Linked DNA regions of Homo sapiens: region 2 is linked to region 1. The links are contacts of gene promoters, found by promoter capture Hi-C in blood cells and fetal thymus (Javierre and others, 2016). All regions are on one chromosome and are shown on one strand. Each heading gives the region's core, a stretch centred on a gene start or on the middle of the fragment in contact. The rest is flanking DNA. Distances are from core to core; before and after follow the strand shown. Region 1 holds the start of KGD4 (alpha-ketoglutarate dehydrogenase subunit 4). Region 2 holds the start of MAST4-AS1 (MAST4 antisense RNA 1).

The links. The method cuts DNA at HindIII sites, captures the fragments that hold promoters and counts their contacts. A CHiCAGO score of 5 or more calls a contact.
Region 2: a contact is called between the fragment with the promoter of MAST4-AS1 here and the fragment with the promoter of KGD4 in region 1, in 3 of 17 cell types (non-activated CD4 T cells, total CD4 T cells and activated CD4 T cells). The highest score is 9.5, in non-activated CD4 T cells.

What each region holds. Positions count from the first base shown.
Region 1 is chr5:69,214,441-69,221,243 of GRCh38, reverse strand. KGD4 (alpha-ketoglutarate dehydrogenase subunit 4) reads right to left here and starts at 3,484. Exons shown (of 4, transcript NM_033281.6): 1 at 3,373-3,484. The coding sequence starts at 3,414. RefSeq lists enhancers at 635-1,259, 2,908-3,202. The HindIII fragment of the contact is 5,941 bases long and covers 1-4,430 here.
Region 2 is chr5:66,998,713-67,005,953 of GRCh38, reverse strand. It overlaps MAST4-AS1 (MAST4 antisense RNA 1), which reads left to right and starts at 1,800. Exons shown (of 2, transcript NR_111908.1): 1 at 1,800-2,110; 2 at 3,905-4,336. All of the region lies in intron 4 of MAST4 (microtubule associated serine/threonine kinase family member 4), which reads right to left. RefSeq lists a silencer at 1,583-1,922. The HindIII fragment of the contact is 7,419 bases long and covers 1-4,950 here.

The DNA of each region.
Region 1 (6,803 bases), core at 2,235-4,734:
AGGTACACACCCACACACTACCCCTCCTGCCTGGCTAATTTTTTTTTTTTTTTTTAGTATTTATTGATCATTCTTGGGTGTTTCTCGGAGAGGGGGATGTGGCAGGGTCATAGGATAATAGTGGAGAGAAGGTCAGCAGATAAACACGTGAACAAAAAGGTCTCTGGTTTTCCTAGGCAGAGGTCCCTGCGGCCTTCCGCAGTGTTTACGTCCCTGGGTACTTGAGATTAGGGAGTGGTGATGACTCTTAACGAGCATGCTGCCTTCAAGCATCTGTTTAACAAAGCACATCTTGCACCGCCCTTAATCCATTTAACCCTGAGTGGACACAGCACGTTTCAGAGAGCACGGGGTTGGGGGTAAGGTTATAGATTAACAGCATCCCAAGGCAGAAGAATTTTTCTTAGTACAGAACAAAATGGAGTCTCCTGTGTCTACTTCTTTCTACACAGACACAGTAACAATCTGATCTCTCTTTCTTTTCCCCACATTTCCCCCTTTTCTTTTCGACAAAACCGCCATCGTCATCATGGCCCGTTCTCGATGGTTGCTGTCTCTTCAGAGCTGTTGGGTACACCTGCAGAAAGGCTGTCACTTCACACTTGGAAGATTGCACTGCGGCCAGGCAGAGGCGCTCCTCACTTCCCAGACGGGGTGGCGGCCGGGCAGAGGCGCTCCTCACATCCCAGACGGGGCGGCCGGGCAGAGGCGCTCCTCACTTCCCAGACGGGGCGGCTGCCTGGCTAATTTTTATAGAGATGGGGTCTTGCTATGTTGCCTAGGCTAATCTTGAACTCCTGGCTCAAGCAATCTTCCCACCTTGGCTTTCCAAAGTGTTGGGAGTACAGGTGTGAGCCACCGTGCCCAGCTGGCTTTGTCTTTACTTAATGTTCTGAGACCACGCTTTGTGACTTCCTATCAGTTTGTACCAATCAGTCTTTTGGCACTCTTCTCTTCCTTCAAGATATGGATCAACAACCAAATTCTAAGCTCTATGTTTTTTTGTTTTTTTTTTTTGAGTCAGGGTCTAGCTCTACTGTCCAGGCTGGAATGCAGTGGCATGATTATGGCTCACTGTAGCCTTGATCACCCAGGCTCAATCTTCCCACCTCAGCCTCCTGAGTAGCTGGGACCACAGGTGCACATCACCATGCTCAGCTAATTTTTTAAAATTTTTATAGAGATGGGGTCTTGCTATTTTGCCCAGGCTGGTCTTGAACTCCTGGGCTCAAGCCATCCTCCTGCCTCAAACTACCAAAGTGTTGGGATTACAGGCATACATCAGTGAGCCTGGCCTAAACTCTAACTGGCACTGTAGTCCTAGCTTTATAGGCCTGTCACAGAGATACTCAACAAATTTTGCTAATGTTATATGTAATTATTACATAATATTAGCACATACTTTATTATTTATTTTTCGAGACCAGGTCTTGCTCTGTTACACAGGCTGGGGTGCAGTGGGGTGATTGTGGTTCACTGCAGCGTCAAACTCCTAGGCTCAAGTGATATTATATTAGCATATTGGTTGTATTCTCTCTTTTTTTCTTTTTTTTTAAGAGCGCAATCACGAACCTGATTTGAATTCTAAATAGGTGAGTACAGGTCTTTGTTCCTATGTTAGAAGGGCACAGACCATTCCTTACTGTATATCTCACAGTTTCTTCATTTGTTTGCACACATCAGCTGTTAGTATTGCTTTGGACTGTACTATTTTAACAAACTACCACAATTTGTTTATGCAAAAGACAGACATAGAGATTGTTTGTGGTTTGGGGGCTATCAGAAATAGAGCCAGGGACCCCATGGCAGTATATATAGTACCTGCCTGCTGAGATGCCACACTCCTGCTGCCAGGCTGGAACCCCTCAGCTCTGGACCCCAGTTCTTTGCTAGTAACTCTTTTTTTTCTGTGAACATTTACGTACAGAGACAGTATGTGCATTCACTTCTCTTGGGCAATAAACCTATGAGTAGAATTGCTGGGTCATACGGTAGATACATGCTTAACTATTAGAGACTGACAGCTTTCCAAAGTGGCTATAACATTTTATATTCCCACCAGCAATATTGAGGGTTTCAGACGCTTCACATTCTCATCACCACTGACGTCTAAATTTTAGTCATTTTGGTGGATGTGTAGGACCTCATGGTTTTAATTTTTATTTTCCTGGCAAGTAATGATATTGAGCACCTTTTAAAATGTTCATTGCTCATTTGGGTATCTTTTGTGCAACACGCCAAGTCTTTTACCCATTTTTAAATTGTTATATATTATTGATACATATGGTTATATATTATGGATAACAGACCTTTGTCAGTCTCTCAGTCCTTACAGAATCTTTAACTAGTTGATGCTCAGTAACTACCTACTGAATAAGTAAGGATCATTCATTGCAATGGGACCAAAGACTGGGATCTAGGATTATCATTCAGACAACAATTTCAGGAATTTAGAAAAAGGTCTTTTAAGAGATGTACTTATATAAAGCGGAATGTACTTCTCATATCAAAGATAAAAGTCAATTATAAAATAATATAGTTTCAGGGTTCAAAGACTATGTAAACCAACCACAAAAGTGGAGGTTGTGTTCCACTTATATAATAATTTTACCTAAGTTAGAACCACAGCTGAAGAAACAAATAAAAAGGCTATCAGGAGTTAGTAGCTGATAGGTGGATTAACAAAGTTACTTTAGCTGTCTATCTAAACCAGGGGAAAATAGGCTTGTGAAACCAACGCTTATACACACACACACACACACACACACACACATTAATATACACACACACATACTAATTAAACTTAAGTTTACTTTTCTATTTCCCTCATCTGGCCTGTAGCCAGACGCTTGGAGAGGTTGGGGAGAACCCGCTCCGGCGAGGACGCAGTACGCGGGGCCAGTTGCCCGACCATTCCCGAGACCTTGAAGGGACAGTGGGTCAGATCCAGGGTTCGCTTCCTTCCACGCCCCGCTACCGCCTTCCTTCCGATTGGCTGATCGGGGGCACCACAGCCAATCCTAGACGGCGATTGGCCAGGCTACCGCCAGGGTCGCCTCACCCGCACACGCCTAAGACTAACAAGGTCCTGGCGGAGGAGCGGGGGATCCCGGCAGTAGGTACAGGACCTACCTGCCAAGATGCTGCACGGTTGCCGCAAGGCTCGAACCCTCGGCGCCGGACCCACCTCACTGCCCGGTCCAACAGGCTCAAAGTCCCATCCTCACACACACCCGCGGGCGCCGTCACTGGCCCTCCGCAGAGGCGCGGTCACCGCTCTGCCTCTGCCACCGCCTTTACTCCCCGACGCCGTCGCCATAGTCAGCACCGTCCCTACCGCCCAAGATGCGGAAACGCGACAAATTGCTTTACCTGAACGACCCTACTAGCAGACGCCATCTTGCTGCCCATCATGACCCCCGAGAAGGGGCAGTTTCCGGGGCGCGAGCGAGCCGCGGCGATCACTGGAGTCCCGGGCAGCTGTGGGCGGTGCTTCCCGGGACGTCACGGAGGCGGAGACCGGACTGGGCTCTCCTCCGCCGTGGGGCTGGCTCCGCCCCCTGTGCCTGACCCCGCCCACCCCTTCTCCCTACTAGGATCCACCCACGTGTGTTCTATTGTTTCGTTTTGGGGACAAAATTTTGTTAAGGTGGGTCTCTGCTCATTAGCCTATAAATTGTCTAGGACCATTTCCTTTCCAGAAAGCCAGTCTATAATTTCGATATAGTTCAAAATTTTATCTGGAACCAAATAAATAATACAACCTTCTTATCTGACAGCTCTTGCAAAGATTAAAAAAATTAAAGAAAAACAAAAAAAAAACCTTGCGGTTTCCTAAAATGAATAATTTCGTTAAAATGGGAGTTAGTGGCAAGCTCACAAGAGTTTACTCTGGCTTAAAAAGGGCCATGTCACACTCTCTTGCTGATTGGCATTGCTTGATTGTAATTTGTTTCTGTTTTCTTTACCGTTTATTACTCCTGATATCGAACTGCTGGGCCTTTGCTTCAAGTTGAGATAACTCAAAAATTCAGAAATATTTGAAATGTAAGCCACTCATATCTTTCCCCCAAAATTACATTACGGGCGGGGCGCTATGGCTCACGCCTGTAATGCCAGCACTTTGGGAGGCTGAGGCGGGCGGATCACTTGAGGTCAGGAGTTCGACACCAGACTGGCCAACATTGTAAAACCCTGTCTCTACTAAAAATACAAAAATTAGCCGGGCGTGGTGGCGGGCGCCTGTAGTCCCAGCTACTCAGGAGGTGAGGCAGGAGAATTGCTTGAACCCAGAAGGCAGAGGTTGCAGTAAGCCGAGAGTGTGCCACTGCACTCCGGCCTGAGCGACAGAGGGAGACTCCGTCTCAAAAAAAAAAAAAGTTACATTACGTTCTGTGATAATGCTTAGGTTATATATAGTATTGTAAGCTTGACCAATGTGTTTGATGATATACATCAGTGATTTCTAAGTCTTGGGATCTTTTTAGAAATATAAATTACTGAACCCAGGTATGGTCTATTGGGATTCAGTGACTACAGAGAGGCCATTAACCCGTTTTGTTTTGTTTTGTTTTTGTGGTTTTTTTTTTTTTTTTTGAGACGGAGTCTCGCTCTGTTGCCCAGCCTGGAGTGCTGTGGCGTGATCTCAGGTCACTGCAACCTTTGCCTCCTGGATTCAAGCAATTCTCCAGCCTCAGCCTCCCCAGTAGCTGGGATTACAGACGCCCGCCACCACGCCTGGCTAATTTTTGTATTTTTGGTAGAGACAGAGTTTCACCATATTGGCCAGACTAATCTCCAACTCCTGGCCTCAAGTGATCCACCCACCTCAGCCTCCCTAAGTGCTGGTATTACAGGCGTGAGCCACTGCGCCTGGCCCCATTTTAATTATTTTCAAATGTGCAGTTCAGTCACATTAAGTACATTCACATTGTTGGGCAATTGTTACCATCTTCAGAAACTGTACCCATTAAACAAAAACTTATTCCTCCTTCCCTCAGCCTCTGACAACTATCATTTTACTTTCTGTCTATGAATTTGACTACTGTGGGTACTTAATGTACGTGGAGCCATAACAGTATTTGTCCTTTTGTAATTAGCTTGTTTCACTTAGCATGTCTTCAGAGTTCATTCATGTTGTAGAATGTGTCAGAATTTCTTTTTTAAGGCTGAAAAAATCCCATTATATGTGTATACCACATTTTGCTTATCCATTCATCTGTGGTAATTCTTTTTTTTTTTGAGACAGAGTCTTGCTCTGTCACCCAGGCTGGAGTGCAGTGGTGCCAACTCGGCTCACTGCAAGCTCCGCCTCCCTGGTTCACACCATTCTCCCACCTCAGCCTCCCAGGTAGCTGGGACTACAGGCACCCGCCACCACACCAGGCTAATTTTTTTTGTATTTTTAGTAGAGACAGGGTTTCACTGTGTTAGCCAGGATAGTCTCCATCTCCTGACCTCGTGATCTGCCCGCCTCAGCCTCCCAAAGTGCTGGGATTACAGGTGTGAGCCACCGTGCCCAGCCGATAATTTTTTTTTTTTTTTGAGACAGAGTCTCGCTGTGACACCCAGGCTGGATGCAGTGGCATGATCTCAGCTCAATGCAACCTCTGCCTCCTGGGTTCAACTGATTCTCCTGCCTCATCCTCCTGAGTGGCTGGGATTACAGGTGCCCACCACCACGCCCAGCTAATTTTTGTATTTTTAGTAGAGACAGGGTTTCTCCGTGTTGGCCAGAATGATCTCAAACTCCTGACCTCAGGTGATCCGCCCACCTTGGCCTCCCAAAGTGCTGGGATTACAGGTGTGAGCCACCGCACCTGGCCCAGTTCAATGCTTTTTAGAAAATTTTCATTTGAGACTCCTTTGACCTATGCCTCATTTAAAAGTGTGTTCAGTTTCCAAGTATTTGGAAATTTTCCTGTTATCTGACTGTTACTGATTCCTCATTTGATTCCCTTGTAGTCAGAACACAGTCTGTATAATTTCAATTCTTTTATATTTGTTGATATTTTGTCATCCAGGATATGGTCTATGTTGTTTATGTTCTGTAAGCACTTGAAAAGAGTGTTCTGCTGTTGTTTGGTGGAGTATTCTATAAATGTTGATTAGCTCCTCTGTTAGTCCATGTGTGCTACTGTAACAAAATACCTTAGTATGGGTAATTTATAACCACAGAAATTTATTTCTCATGTTCAGGAGGCTCAAAAGTCTAAGATCAAAGTACCAGCAGTTTCGGTGTTTTGTGAGGGCTCAGTCTTTTCTTCCAAGATGGTGCTTTGAACACTGCTTCATCCGAGGGGTTTAACACTGTGTGCTCACATGGCAGAAGGGCAGAAGAGAAGGAACCCATTCCCTCAAACTTTTTTTTTTTTTTTTTTTGAGACAGTCTTGTTCTGTCACCCAGGCTGGAGTGCAGTGGCACAATCTCGGCTCACTGCAACCTCCATCTCCTGGGTTCAAGCGATTCTCCTGTTGCAGCCTCCCAAGTAGCTGGGATTACAGGCGCCCTCTACCACACCCAGCTAATTTTTGTATTTTTAGTAGAGATGGGGTTTTGCCATGTTGGACAGGCTGGCTTTGAACTCCTGACCTCAGGTGATCGGCCCACTTTGGCCGCCCAAAATGCTGGGATTACAGGTGTGAGCCATTGTGCCTGGCCCTCAAACCTTTTTTTAAGGGCCTTAATCTCATCCATGATGGTTCTGTACTCATGATTTAATCATTTCCAATACCTTTTCGTATTGTCACATTAGCAATTTTCAATAGATGAATTTTGAAGGACACAGTCAGACCATAGCTTA
Region 2 (7,241 bases), core at 551-3,050, 2.2 Mb after region 1:
TGCATCCTGTTTATCTGACTGCAAAGTTGCTCTCATGCATGTTCACATGTACATGCAAGGCAAGTTTTGAAGGAAAACAAAGAATCAGTATTAACACAACTCAAAAGGTGTGCCCCTCTAAAAGTACAACAATCTTACTTTTCTGTGCTGGACACAAATGTGGTGAGAAATGCCTCCTTCAAAGTCATAGTCTCTCAACACAAGTGTCAGCAAACTCTTGGAACTGCCTGTCACTTGTGGCATGAGCTTCATCTTGACATTAAAATTCTTTTTCTTTCCCCATCTTTTCTATCAAATATACGTTACAAAATGAAAAGGACACTCCTGTATTAGTAATAAATGCCAGCAAACCATTGAAAAATCAAAATGACAAAGTTATGTAGATCTGCCTCTCCACAGATAGTATGAAATAGCTAACCTGGGCTATCCTTGCATCGTACATCTGCATCTTATAAAGGTCAAATATTTAATAGAGAGGAACATCTGAAGGGCTCAACGAAAAGTACCAGAAGCCTCAATGACTGGGTGAATGAAATGGATAAACATGATCAGGTCAAAGGGACAGACTTAGACAAAGTATCTCCTCCTCTTTCCCTTTTTCTCCCCCACCTCTCACAAGGAAATGTCTTATTATCCACATTTCAAAAGGAGAAAACCTATGAGAAGCACATTTATCAGGGTTACCCAGGAAACCACAAGGACGAAGAAATACCTGAAACAGTACCCCCTCCCCTAGCGGGGCATAAACTTTTCAAAGTGTCACCCAATACACAAAACCCCAGCTCCTGAGGGGCTCAGGCAGCTCCGCCTGTGGGCCCCTGGGAAGTGAAAGCATTCCCTCTCCAGGCAGAGATCCCCGCGTTTTTACCTTTGTGTTCGCCGAAGCCTGTTCCCACTCCTCAAATGAGGCAAAGTAAAGTTTGAGAGCACAGTCCAAAAATTGGGGTCAGACATATCCATTTCTTTCTCTCTTCAATTCACTGTGGGTTCAAGGCCATATGACTAAAATGGGGAGAGGTAAAAAAAAGGAAGAAAGACAAGGCCAAAAATAAAAAAAAAATCCCAATTATCTACTCACTCCCTCCAGAGAAAATGTGATGGGAACTGTGATCTCAAGAACAACTTGGAGCATGTCTGAGAAGTACCCGTCCCGTCCTAGCCTTTAATTAACACACAGCCTCCTCTCAAAGGTCCGGGAAACTGATTTCCTCTCGGGTCTGCCCTCTCCTAGTCAGGCTCGGCCAGCTATAAACAGTAATTACATGAGTTGAGCCGTGCGTTCTGCTCAAAGCGCTGTCTGTGGGATTCAGTCGGAGGTACTTTGTCATCTGTTTGGCAGATACCACTCGCCGCTTCTGCGAGGGGCGGGGGAGACGACTATTTTGAGGCTTTGGTTCCGGAGGCTGTTGCTTATCAGCAAAACCATTCACATCCGAACATGCCCAGTGCCGAGTTTCCTTTTGGTATCTACATACAAGGAAAAGAATTTGAATAGAAAAAGCTGCTCTTGCCCTCCCCTCCTGAAAAAAGCGGAAACTTAAAAGCACTTTTAAAAAATGGGCCTATTGGAGGACTTGAACCTGACACCTTTGTGGACCCTTCCAGGGTCCGGCTGGGAGGAGGCGGCAGGGCCTTGTCCCTGGACAGCTTGGTGGCCGCGCCCCCAGCTTTCCTGCATCCCCCACCCCCCACCAGCCCCGGCCGCGCCTGAGGAGCGGGGGCTCACGGGAAAGGGAGCAGGCGGCCGCGGCGCGACCCCAGCCGGTGCCGGGACAGCCCCGCAGCCTGGGCCGCCGCTCCCCCTCCCCGGAGCCCGGAATGGATCCGTCCCGGAAATAAATAAATAAACCCGCGGCTGCTCCGGGTGTGTGCTGCGCGCACCTGAGGCCGACCTGTGATTCACCGCGGGAGGGATGGCAGTGACAACGCTCCGGGGAAGTCCACAGTGACTCCTCCGCCAGGACGCCGCTGGTTGTATAGGAAAAGCACGCGGACGGGAAGCCACACTCACCGAAAACCTCAGTAAACTAAATTTATGAGTTTACATCTGTTCCATCAATGACCACGGTGCACACCTGTTTGGCTTCATGGCCGGCAACTACAGATCTAGGTAATGGTGAGCCCCGATGTGGAAAGACACTACCTGGCATTTATGTGGCAAATGCTACAAGTATTGCCCCTTCAAGTACGTTAGACCTTGAAAGGGCAGAATGAAGGGGGCTGAATGTTCTTGTTATTCATTTTGAAGAAAGGCATGGTATTTAAATATCTCCCCCTATCCATGAATGTTTGTATAAAGTACATAAAGAAAAAATATAATTTAAATTAGCTGCCTTAAGTCTGGTGTAATATGGCAAGAAATACTAAATCAAAAAAGTATATATTCAGCAAAAAATACATCTAAAAATGGCTTAGTCCATGCAGTAAATACCAGGAACAAACTCGCTTACAAAAATGGGAGGATAAAGAGAAGGAAGAGGGGGTGTAAGCTGACAAGGTAGGCGGGGTAAACAAAAAGAAGCCTGCTGTGGGATCTTCTTTATCTAATTCTTGTGGCCCACATTAATATTTTCACACCAAGGACTCCAAGAGTTTTGGATGATGTTTCATGTCCAAGGCTTTCGTATGCGTTATCTCCTCACATTCTTACAGAGCCTCCACAGATCCTTGCAACCCACAGAGGTAGACAAAGAAGGCATTATTTTCTCAATTTTACATTTGGGACTTTATCCCAAACATTCAGGGACACTAAATGACAAAACACACTTCAATAGATATTAATGAGCTTGGTCCAGCATTTTTGCCCCATGCTCTTCTTTTAAAAAATGTTTCTAAGTATTGCAAAAGATGTTTTGAAGGCTGACACAAAAGAGTGTCCCTGTGCTCCGGAGCAGTTTCTAGACCTCAGCACTGTTGACATAGGCTGGATAATTCTTTGTCTGAGGAGCTTTCTTGAGCATTGGAGGATGTTTAGCAACATTGCTGACCTCGACCTACTAGATGCCAGTGCTGACAATTAAAAATGTCTGAGGACATTGCCAAATGTCCCTTGGGAGGTAAAATCACCCCTGGTTGGGAACCACTGCTCCAGATAAAGGCTTCTCTGAGAGGGGTGATACAGAGCACTGGTTTAGAGCAAAAATTTTGGGTCTGAATTCTGGATACAACACTTACTATGACCTTAAATCTCTTCTCATTTTCCCCAGCTGCAATATGGGGTCCATAATAGGACCAACCTGTAAGAGGCTGATATACATAAATGAAGAGGAGATGGCATACATAAGCCCTTTCACGCAATGTCTACACACACACTGCGCATAAATGTAGGCAGTATACAGAAGCTAAGAGAATACTATGCTGACAGACATAAGACTGGAGCAGAGGACACCCCACAATGTGCTTCTTTCTACTCTCTAGAGTCTTCAACCAGGCTGCTGATCACACTGTGTATAATTGACTGTTTACTGCTGTCTTTCCAATTAGTCTGAGTTCCTCAAGGCTAAAGTCACATTTTACTGATCTTCATATTTTCAGAACCTGACAGCTCCTCAGTTTATATAGGCATTTAATATTAGTAAATCCTTTTTGAATGGATACTTCAGAAGCCCAAGTATCTCTTATTTCTCTTAAGATGCACTGAAACTATTAGTACTAGTAGATCTGTATTCTCAAAGAATACTGAATTTTTGAGAATCCCATGAAGACGGTAAATTCTGAAGACTTTCTCTTAGTGACTTATTTGTATCTATATCATGTAGCTGGAAAGATATCAGTGCTAACATTCCTCAGGTCTTTACATGGCTCTAAGAAATGTCACAATCAAACTCAAGGGGAATTCCCTTTGAGTCCCATGTCCCCTCCTCAAAGGCAAGCCCAGAGAATAACTTTTTGTGCTCACTTGTAGGTATCCAAGATCAAGAGGGACAATTACATATTATAAGCCGCACAGAGAAGAGTAATCAAGGTGGACATGAACTTGTGCTATATAAGTTATGGGTTGAAGAACTCTGTGGAAAGTAGAGAAGAAAAAATTTAGGGAACAAGCAGTAGTTGAATACAGCTATGTGAAACTATGAGAACTATGTGAAAGAGTGTTTGGATCCAAAGATGAAAGAGCTGACACAAGAGTGGATTTTCTGAGAGCTGTTTGAGCAGAGAAAACTTGAAGGAGATACAGTGAGTAGAACACAACCTGTAGGTGGTTTGAAGACCTGAGGACTCCAATACCTCCCAACTCTCATATTCTCTATAGTTTTTCTAGAAAAGCCCATGTATTGGGGCATAACCTATAAAGATGATAGCAACTAAAATGGATAAATCAATGACATAAAATGTTTATTTCTTCTCTTGATTAAATGACAGATACCCCAATCTGCAGGCATCATATGTTATGACTGCCTCCACTCTCTGCATTTTGAGAAAGCCTCTACAGAAATTCTCAAAGGAATGGGTAAAGACATGAGTATTTTTAACTACATATACTTTAAATTTATTTTTTTTTTTTGCATTTAAAAGGCTTGAGAGGATTTGGGTTGTATCCAAACTGAAAAAATAAAAATAGGTTAAGTACATGAGGAACCAGAATGAATTAATATAGTGAGCGAAAGTGGATTGTACATTCCCACACTCATGAAGATAAGAGTACAGATGACACTGAAGTGTGAGTTGTCTTCTAACCTGTTTGACTTGATTTGGTTACATATGATTCAGAAGGCAGAGCAGTCGGTAAACACAAGAATTAAAATTGTCAAAACTACTGACATTTTCCTACAAAATAATTATATGGGCAGAAACTATAGTTGCGACTGCAGTAAAACTCAACTGCAGAACAAAGAGGGAACTGAGATTACTGGAAATTCTTAAGACTATAGCTGGTCTAGGTCAATATAGAGATATTCAGCAGGATTTTCTATTGTGTAACAACTAAGCCTATACAACAATGGACAAGCTTTGTGGTTCAGAACTTTCATTCATTTAATCAGGATGACATTGTTAGCCATTGGTTTTGTAAGGTAAATGAAACTAAAAAACAAGCTTGTCATCCTACTGAAATGCAAGCTTAGGAAGAAATAAGTATTTAAGAAAGGGTCAAATCCTTCACTATTACCTCCCCTTCTACATACAAAAAATGCCAGGTCCTTTTTACTGACTTGAATTCTGTCTACTGCCCACCTGTTGACACAAGCCACCCCCCCCCTTTTTTTTTAGACAGAGTTTCACTCTTGTCGCCCAGGCTGGAGTGCAGTGGCGCGATCTTGGCTTACTGCAACCTCTGCCTCTCAGGTTCAAGCGATTCTCCTGCCTCAGCCTCCCAAGTAGCTGGGATTACAGGCAGTCGCCACCACACCCAACTAATTTTTTTGTATTTTTAGTAGGGACGGGGTTTCACCATGTTAGGCAGGCTGGTCTCGAACTCCTGACTGCAGGTAATCCACCCGCCTCAGCCTCCCAAAGTGCTTACAGGCGTGAGCCACCACAGCCGGCAACACATGCCCTTTAAGAAGGGGTTTTCTCCAGTCCACGTAGAACAATGTTAAAAGATAATATGCCTGGAGTCTTGTCTTGAACTTAGATTCTATGAAAAGACTTAGTTTTCTAGTGTGGATGTGAAGTCTGCAAAGCTGTCAGCTCCCTGTGCAGGACACTCGGGCCATGAGGCCATGCCCAATAAGACACTAAGTTGAGATTTCCTAAGCACTCTACCTGATCCTGGCCTATTCTAAGGATTTTGCCCTAAACTAACTTTGACATCTTCCCATCCCCATTTTCAGGGCACCTAGAAGTGACTAGTTCCCTAGGGCTGTCCACACCTTCAAGTCCACTTTGGTCACCTTCTAAATGTGGTCTTGAGAGTTTGAGGCTAGAACTGTGAACAGCAAACTGGCTGTCCTGAATGAGCAATCCTTGTAATCATTTTGTACATCCCAAGAAATAAAGTTTAATACTGGGACAGAAATGGGAAGAAAGTTACATCAATGAGGAACAGGTTGAAGAAAGCGTTTCTAATATTATTAAACAAATTTGCACTCACAATGCTAAAATATGGAGAAAGATAAAAAGATAGACAACAATTAACTTGTAGGGATAGGCCTGAATGCTGAAAACTAAGACAGATAATAGGCAAGGTTGTATCATCCTGGAAAATACCAAAAAATATTTTAAAATAATGCCACAAGGTAAGAGAGGTTCAGATTTTTAAAGTGAATGAGTAAAATGAAAGAAACATTATCCTGGAAGCAAAAAAGGAAAAGGAAAAAAAAAACCCAAAACAAAGGAAACAAAATAAGAATTCTATTTCCTGATGGGTTGAGCAAAGAACTACACAATCTCCGAAGGTAGTGTAAAGGATACAGTCTGAAGCAAGTAAAGGACATGCTAAAGACTGGCCAGAATGGGAAGAGAATGCAAGGTCTTTCTCAGGCATTCTCTGGATCCCAGGAGAATCAGAGACACGGAAAAGATTAGCAGATAACCTATAAGCTAACAAAATATAAGAGAAGACAGTGCATAGATATGGGAAATGAAGCACTTATCTCCCAAGGCAGTGAGTGACTCCTTGATATGTATGATTGATAATTAGAGTAGAATACATATATGGCACACAGCCCATAGGACTGGAGAAGGTGCAGAATCATGTCTTGCAAGCACACTCCAGCACTCTACCTTCTGACTTTCAAGCAGGGGAAGTTCCTGGGAGAAGCCCCATAGCTTAGTCCCAACAGAGTTCCACCCCGTGGGAGAACAGCTGGACACACTGCCAGAAAACACATGGCATCCTTACAGGGATGAAGGGGTCATGCAAAAGAAGGAGACTACTGGGCAAGATCCAGAGATGAGTGTATCTCTCCATTCTAAAACAGCTGTCTGGAAGATCCATCAATAAACCACGTGGAGCACTGGCCTCCACCCAAGCCAGTAATCCAATTATGAAGTAGACAGCAACACTTGGAGATCAATGCATCACCCGGCAAACAGAAAACCTAACTCCTATCTTGTTTTAAGACCAACCTTGTTGTCACTTTAGGCAGCCTTCATGGGAGCCCCCCATCCCCAATGAATTAGATATCCCTCTACTGGGCTGTGCTCCTGAGAGCTCCTGCATGAAAGGGTTCTTCCACTGTATCAAAATCCAAATCATTTTGTGCACATTATCAGTCCCTATTAGAGTAAGAGCTCCTTGAGGGCAGGGGCTTTATCCCCTCATCTTTAAACCATCACTACCACCATTGGGATGAATATTA